Regions from separate parts of the Homo sapiens genome. Here regions 2 and 3 are each linked to region 1. Evidence: promoter capture Hi-C in 16 types of primary human blood cells and fetal thymus (Javierre and others, 2016). All regions are on one chromosome and are shown on one strand. Each heading gives the region's core, a stretch centred on a gene start or on the middle of the fragment in contact. The rest is flanking DNA. Distances are from core to core; before and after follow the strand shown.

Region 1 (2,700 bases), core at 24-2,523:
AGCACCTTGCCTCCCCAAAGCCCCGTGTTCCAGGACGTGGAGCCGCTCCTGGGGTCCCAGCAGTCGAGGTATTCCGCCCAGGCGCAGCTGGACACTGTCCTTCCAGCCCCCGTCCTCCACCCTCCAAGTCCGCGCTGGAAAATCACCCGCTGCGGGCTCCCGTAAGCACAGCTTCCTGGCGGGACCGAACCAGCCCTCAGCGCAGATTTGAGTTCCCCGCAGGAAGCACACCCCGCCTTGTCATCCCGAACTGACCACCCTGCCCACATAACCACACCTCGCACTCCCTACCCCTGGGGCCCAGCTCAGAACCGGGCAGACACCCCCTTCAAATGTCTTCGCACGTAGGTTTTGCACAGTGTTTATCTGCTGGTGTCTCAGGGATTTGACAGTTTCCTTAATATTCCCACACATGGCCGAGAAAAATAAATAAATAAATGCGCTGTCTTCTTTAAAAAAATAAATAAATAAAGTACCCAGTATCGTAAAGTAGGTTATCGTATTCTCTTATTTTGGATCCTCCACTTTCTGCTTCCAAACGCAGGAACAGTGCTAGTATTGCTCGAGCCCGAGGGCTGGAGGTTAGGGGATGAAGGTCTGCTTCCACGCTTTGCACTGAATTAGGGCTAGAATTGGGGATGGGGGTAGGGGCGCATTCCTTCGGGAGCCGAGGCTTAAGTCCTCGGGGTCCTGTACTCGATGCCGTTTCTCCTATCTCTGAGCCTCAGAACTGTCTTCAGTTTCCGTACAAGGGTAAAAAGGCGCTCTCTGCCCCATCCCCCCCGACCTCGGGAACAAGGGTCCGCATTGAACCAGGTGCGAATGTTCTCTCTCATTCTGCGCCGTTCCCGCCTCCCCTCCCCCAGCCGCGGCCCCCGCCTCCCCCCGCACTGCACCCTCGGTGTTGGCTGCAGCCCGCGAGCAGTTCCCGTCAATCCCTCCCCCCTTACACAGGATGTCCATATTAGGACATCTGCGTCAGCAGGTTTCCACGGCCTTTCCCTGTAGCCCTGGGGGGAGCCATCCCCGAAACCCCTCATCTTGGGGGGCCCACGAGACCTCTGAGACAGGAACTGCGAAATGCTCACGAGATTAGGACACGCGCCAAGGCGGGGGCAGGGAGCTGCGAGCGCTGGGGACGCAGCCGGGCGGCCGCAGAAGCGCCCAGGCCCGCGCGCCACCCCTCTGGCGCCACCGTGGTTGAGCCCGTGACGTTTACACTCATTCATAAAACGCTTGTTATAAAAGCAGTGGCTGCGGCGCCTCGTACTCCAACCGCATCTGCAGCGAGCATCTGAGAAGCCAAGACTGAGCCGGCGGCCGCGGCGCAGCGAACGAGCAGTGACCGTGCTCCTACCCAGCTCTGCTCCACAGCGCCCACCTGTCTCCGCCCCTCGGCCCCTCGCCCGGCTTTGCCTAACCGCCACGATGATGTTCTCGGGCTTCAACGCAGACTACGAGGCGTCATCCTCCCGCTGCAGCAGCGCGTCCCCGGCCGGGGATAGCCTCTCTTACTACCACTCACCCGCAGACTCCTTCTCCAGCATGGGCTCGCCTGTCAACGCGCAGGTAAGGCTGGCTTCCCGTCGCCGCGGGGCCGGGGGCTTGGGGTCGCGGAGGAGGAGACACCGGGCGGGACGCTCCAGTAGATGAGTAGGGGGCTCCCTTGTGCCTGGAGGGAGGCTGCCGTGGCCGGAGCGGTGCCGGCTCGGGGGCTCGGGACTTGCTCTGAGCGCACGCACGCTTGCCATAGTAAGAATTGGTTCCCCCTTCGGGAGGCAGGTTCGTTCTGAGCAACCTCTGGTCTGCACTCCAGGACGGATCTCTGACATTAGCTGGAGCAGACGTGTCCCAAGCACAAACTCGCTAACTAGAGCCTGGCTTCTCCGGGGAGGTGGCAGAAAGCGGCAATCCCCCCTCCCCCGGCAGCCTGGAGCACGGAGGAGGGATGAGGGAGGAGGGTGCAGCGGGCGGGTGTGTAAGGCAGTTTCATTGATAAAAAGCGAGTTCATTCTGGAGACTCCGGAGCGGCGCCTGCGTCAGCGCAGACGTCAGGGATATTTATAACAAACCCCCTTTCAAGCAAGTGATGCTGAAGGGATAACGGGAACGCAGCGGCAGGATGGAAGAGACAGGCACTGCGCTGCGGAATGCCTGGGAGGAAAAGGGGGAGACCTTTCATCCAGGATGAGGGACATTTAAGATGAAATGTCCGTGGCAGGATCGTTTCTCTTCACTGCTGCATGCGGCACTGGGAACTCGCCCCACCTGTGTCCGGAACCTGCTCGCTCACGTCGGCTTTCCCCTTCTGTTTTGTTCTAGGACTTCTGCACGGACCTGGCCGTCTCCAGTGCCAACTTCATTCCCACGGTCACTGCCATCTCGACCAGTCCGGACCTGCAGTGGCTGGTGCAGCCCGCCCTCGTCTCCTCCGTGGCCCCATCGCAGACCAGAGCCCCTCACCCTTTCGGAGTCCCCGCCCCCTCCGCTGGGGCTTACTCCAGGGCTGGCGTTGTGAAGACCATGACAGGAGGCCGAGCGCAGAGCATTGGCAGGAGGGGCAAGGTGGAACAGGTGAGGAACTCTAGCGTACTCTTCCTGGGAATGTGGGGGCTGGGTGGGAAGCAGCCCCGGAGATGCAGGAGCCCAGTACAGAGGATGAAGCCACTGATGGGGCTGGCTGCACATCCGTAACTGGGA
Region 2 (2,700 bases), core at 53-2,552, 95 kb before region 1:
CCCAGCCTTAGATTTTTTATTTTTTCTGAGATGGAATCGTGCTCTGTCCTCCAGGCTGTAGTGCAGTGGCGCAATCTCGGCTCGTTGCAACCTTTGCCTCTCAGATTCAAGCAATTCTCCTGTCTCAGCCTCCCGAGTAACTGGGACTTGGGACTGCAGGAGCACGACACCAAGCCCAGCTAATTTTTGTATTTTTAGTAGAGATGGTGTTTCACCATATTGGTCAGGCTGGTCTCGAACTCCTGACCTCAGGTGATCCACCCTTCTTGGCCTCCTAAAGTGCTAGGATTACAGGCATGAGCCACCATCCCCAGCCCAATCCCATGACTTTAAATGTGTCTGTAGACTGATAATTCCCAAACATGGATCTCCTGACCTCTCTCATAAGCTCCAGAGTCTATATCGAGCTCCCTACTTGACATCTCCACTTGAAGGACTAATAGGCAATTCATACTTAACTCTTGATTTCCCTTCTCCCCTCTTCCCCCACCCCGCTCCCAAATCTACTTCTTCCGCATCTCAGTAAATGGCACCACCTTCTGCCTAGTCAATGACACCATTCTTGTTTCCTCTTTAACTAACCTTCTCCCCAGACAGAGTCAGTTCATCAAGTCCCGTCAGTTCTGGATTGGGTCCTAAAATGTATGCTGGTCAGTTTCTACTTCTCTATAAGCTAGGGGTCCATAAACTGCTGCCTAGCTAGGCAGGCCAAATCTGGCATGCAACCTCCTGTTTTTCTATTGTGCAAGAGCTAAGAATGGCTTTTACATTTTTTGAGGGCTGTTAAAAAAAAAAAAGGAGGAGGAGAAAGAAGAGAAGAATGTGCAATAGAGAGCTCAAGTGACCTGCAAGCCTGAAATATTTGCTATCTGACCTTTTACAGAAAAATTTATTTCTGTCAGTTAAGCAAACAAGACAACAGCCTCCTTAATGGTTATCTCTGCTTTTATTATTGCCTGACAATAATCGTACTCATTAACATACCCAGAATGATTTTTTTTTCTTTTTTTCTCTGATTTTTTTTTTTTTTTAAGTAAAGCAGATCAACTAGATTAAAATCCAAACACCCAGCCACAGCCTGAAGGCTGAGGCCACTGTGTTCTGGCTCATGCCTGCCTCTCTGTGATTATCCTACCCATTAATGTCTTACCTGGCCTTCCAAACAGTTTAAGCCCCTACCTGCATCAGAGCCTTGGACCTTGCTGCCTACCTGGAGCTCTCCTCAGCTGTTGTCTCATATACTCTGCTGACTGCTTCTCATCATTTGGGTCCCAACTGAATGTCACCACCCCACATAAGTATCCCCCCCCTTGGGTTACTTTCTACCACATTATCTGGTTTTATTATCTTTATTTTTCTCTCTTTTTTTTTCTTTTTTTTGAGATGGAGGTCTCCCTCTGTTGCCCAAGCTAGAGTGCAGTGGCATGATCTCGGCTCTCTGCAACCTCCGCCTCCTGGGTTCAAACGATTCTCATGCCACAGCCTCCCAAGTAGCTGGGACTACAGGCACTTGCCACTGTGCCTGGATAATTTTTGTATTTTTAGTAGAGATGGGGTTTCACCATGTTGGTCAAGCTGGTCTTGAACTCCTGACCTCAAGTGATCTGCCTGCCTTGGCCTCCCAAAGTGCAGGAATTACAGGTGTGAGCCACCGCGCCCGGCTCTTTTTTTTTTTTTTTTTTTTTTAGGGACAGGGTCTTGCTCTGTAACCCAGGCTGGAGTGCAGCGGCGCCATCATAGCTCAGTGCTGCCTCCATCTCCCTGGCTCAAGCGATTCTCCCACCTCAGCCTCCCCAGTGCTGGGGACTACAGGCACACGCCACCACACCTGGCTAATTTTTTTTTTTTAGTAGAGATGAGGTCTCACTCTGTTTCCCAGGCTTGTCTCAGACTCCTGAGCTCCAGCAATCCTCCAGCCTCTGCCTCCCAAGGTGCTGGGATTATGGGTGTGAGCTACTGCACCCGGCCCTGGTTTTATTATCTACATGGCTCTTGTCACTGTTTGAAAGTATCTTATATATATATCTTTCTTGTTTATTATCACCCCACCCTACTGGAATTTAAGCTCAGAAGAGCAAGGGCTTTGATTTTTGCCTGATCTTTCCCTGAGATCAGGCACAATATCCTGTCCATAGTTGGTGCTCAACAAATACTTATCGAATAAATGAAATACAACATATTATAAAGCTCCTAGCACGAGATGAACATAGAGCAGTTGCTCCATAAATGCTAGTTCCTCTATGTAGTAGGTACAACATTTTAATTGCCATTTTTTATATGGAGAAGCTGAGGTCTGAAACTGCTTAGTGACTTGCCTCAAGTCATACAATGAGTCAGTGTTAGAGCTGAAAATAGAAATGAGAGCTCCTAACTGCAGACCAATTTTTGTCATTACATTTGATAAAACTTGGTATTTACGATTTAGTTTCCACTCTACTAAGAAGTTTTAAATTCTTGGGCACTCTTTCTCTACTTTCACTCAGAGGCTAGTAAAAGATCCACTAGCCTCTCCCAACTCATTTTGCTTGAAAAAACAAGATTTTTATCAGTCGGGTGTGGTAGTTCATGCCTATAATCCCAGCACTTTGGGAGGCTGAGGCATGTGGATCACGTGAGATCAGGAGTTCGAGACCAGCCTGGCCAACATGGTGAAACCTCTCTCTACTAAAAATACAAAAAATTAGGCATGGTGGCGGGAGC
Region 3 (2,700 bases), core at 176-2,675, 120 kb after region 1:
CCCACTGGACCTGAATTGTAGGAAGTTGTCTGCAGTGCTGAGTGCAAAGAGCCTGGGCCAAAGCCAGAAATGAGGACCTGAGCCAAGACAGGAGAAGAGGAAAGAGTCTGAGAGCCACTTGGGTGACAGAAGCCAGACTAACTGGATTAAGAGGGCATGAGGAAGAGGGTGTGTGCTTTAGGAAGAGGCTAAAACTCTTAGCCTGACTACATGAATGGAGAAACTCCCCTTCCCCCTTCTTTTGCCTCTATCACTGTCCCCCTGGGAAATCATGTCCACTGCCAAACCCTGTATTCTCCTCTTCTGCAGATTCATGCCTCTGATTACAATTCTTTATGGGCATGCCTGGTCCTTTGGAGCAGGGACCATGCCTCGTCATCTTCACATCCCCAGGGACTAGCCTGGCACATGGTTGGCACCGGGTCAAGGCTGACTTGGATTGAGTTCTCGCTGAGCTAGGCATGAGCTGCACCCTCCCCCTGCCCCCAGGGCTTAGTCATCTGTTTCATAAGCAGCTTCCAAAAGCTGCAGCCCCAATACCCAGCTTCCTTGTTGTTGGCAGGTGTTGGCAGCCCTGAGTGCCAGAACGCCAGGGAGCCAGCCACTGGGAACATGCTAGGGTGGTGAGCAGGAGCCAACTAATCAGGGCTCATATACATTTACGAGAGGCGTGTGTGTGCTCCCCAGGAGAGCTGTAACGACACTCCCTTTCCAGGAAACACAAACCAGGCCTCTTTCCTTTCTTTTTTCTCACCTGTCCTGTCTTGTGGCCAGAAGCACATTCATTGGCTTTCCATGCTTCTAAAATAAATCAAATTGGGGGCCACACCCTTCCAAGCTACTTTAGGTTTGCTCCGTGGAAGCTTTAACCCCTTATCATCCCACCAGGCCTGAAATGCTTGGGTTCCAATTTACAAAAATATTAACTTTTTATGTCCTTTCAGAAGAAGGATCTCAGTTTTCCTGATGTCTGCTCCCCTGCCCTGGAATTTCTCCCTCTGCTCATAATTCATCCCAAGGATGTTGACTTCTGTGTTTTGGGATGGTCAGGGGCTAAGTGGCATGGAGGGCAAATAGATTAACCTTTTACCAACTTTCCAAAGCCCTTCCTCCTTGTTCTTTTTTGTTTTTGTTTTTTTGAGATGGAGTCTCACTCTGTCACCCAGGCTGGAGTGCAGCAGCATGATCTCATCTCATTGCAACTTCCGCCTCCCAGGTTCAAGTGATTCTCCTGCCTCAGCCTCCTGAGTAGCTGGGACTACAGGCGCATGCCACCACGCCCAGATAATTTCTGTATTTTTAGTAGAGATGGGGTTTTGCCATGTTGGCCAGGCTGGTCTCAAACTCCTGACCTCATGATCCACCCACCTCGGCCTACCAAAGTGCTGAGATTACAGGCGTGAGCCACTGCGCCTGGCCCTTCCTTGTTCTTTTTATCTCGGCCTCCTCTGGGCTTTTGGAAGGCCTCTTCTTTCTCTAACCCCAAGGTTTTCCTCATTACTCCTCCAAGATTTCAAGGTTTTCCTCTTGTCAGTTTCGTTATGGAAACTCCTGGTTCCCCGCTAGCCTGCGCTCCTCAGTAGGGCTCTGAAACTCAGCTCTCATCTGCCCCAGTGTTATGTTGTTTTTTTCCCTGTCGCTATGGCAGGGATTAAGACAGGAGCCAGGGAAGAAGGGCGGGGGGAGGAAAGTGAGCACGGAAAGGCAGAAGAACGATGGGAGAGAGCCTGATTGGAGGGTGTCAGAGCTGAAGGAAACCGACAGAGAAATGGGCTGAGTGTGTCAAGGGAAGGAAGAGGGATTTGTTTTTCGTTGTTCTATTTTGGTTTTGGTTTTATAGTTTGGATTTGTTTCCAGAGATGAAGAGAAATGTACTTAGTGCTGAATCTCCCCCAACATAGAGTCATGGCTAAAGAAATCCCTCTCGCATCGTCAGTAATCCAGGGGCAATCTTTAGATCCCAGATGGAATAGGGAAAACTCTCAAAAAAGCTTCCAGTTATTCTCAATTCACTTTATGGACAAGCCTGCCCAGTCAGTGTGACAAAGTGACCCAGTACCACTCTGAGACCAGGCAAGCCCTGCCCTTTGGAGATCCCTTCCCCGCAGGCCTCCCTTTGTCCCTGGGGCGAGGGGGTCCTCAGGGCTGAGGGTGATGCCCAGACAGAGTCTATGCCCACACCCACCCCTTCCAGCCCATGCTCCATACTCAGGACCCCAGAATCTCTGCCCGAATGGCCCAAGCCCACTTCCAGGTTCTGGGTGGGCCTGTTTCCATGGTCCACCCTCTCAAGGTAGCCTGTGCAGCCAGTGGCCAAGGGATAGCTGCTTGGGACTGGGCAGTGGGCAGAACCCGGAGGTGCAGGCTGGTGTCAAGCATGTGCACTTGAGAAGGGGCCCTGGCTGAGGGTTGGAACAAACGGCAGGCAGGCCCTGAGCGGGGCTGCCTTTCCTTCTGCTGCTGCATTCTGGTCTGAAGAGTCTGAGGATTCTAAAGTCATACCTGGCCTTCCAGAATGTTATGGAGGTTCATTTGTGAAGACAGGAGAAGAAGACAGGTTTTATTGAATAATTTCTTATCTTGACTTATAGCTTTTAAATATTTAGATACATGGTATGTGAATTGTTGTTTGAATTCTTGCCCTGGTCCCACAAACCTGTGATAAAATGAAGATTTGCGTGATGGAAACGACTCTATTTC

What was found. Contacts are between HindIII fragments. The CHiCAGO score rates a contact against its expected background, and 5 or more counts as called.
Region 2: a contact is called between a fragment that was not itself captured here and the fragment with the promoter of FOS in region 1, in 17 of 17 cell types (monocytes, M2 macrophages, naive B cells and 14 more). The highest score is 42.2, in monocytes.
Region 3: a fragment that was not itself captured here is called in contact with the fragment with the promoter of FOS in region 1 in 1 of 17 cell types (monocytes); the score reaches 7.4 in monocytes.

Annotation. Positions count from the first base shown.
Region 1 is chr14:75,277,555-75,280,254 of GRCh38, forward strand. FOS (Fos proto-oncogene, AP-1 transcription factor subunit) reads left to right here and starts at 1,274. Exons shown (of 4, transcript NM_005252.4): 1 at 1,274-1,569; 2 at 2,323-2,574. The coding sequence starts at 1,429. RefSeq lists silencers at 676-765, 1,116-1,175 and enhancers at 1,264-2,191, 1,546-1,605, 2,192-2,700. The HindIII fragment of the contact is 6,704 bases long and covers 1-2,700 here.
Region 2 is chr14:75,182,303-75,185,002 of GRCh38, forward strand. No RefSeq gene overlaps it. Among named protein-coding and RNA genes, the nearest start is that of TMED10, 7.0 kb to the left of the region's middle. The HindIII fragment of the contact is 3,996 bases long and covers 1-2,700 here.
Region 3 is chr14:75,399,941-75,402,640 of GRCh38, forward strand. No RefSeq gene overlaps it. Among named protein-coding and RNA genes, the nearest start is that of JDP2-AS1, 26 kb to the right of the region's middle. The HindIII fragment of the contact is 1,128 bases long and covers 862-1,989 here.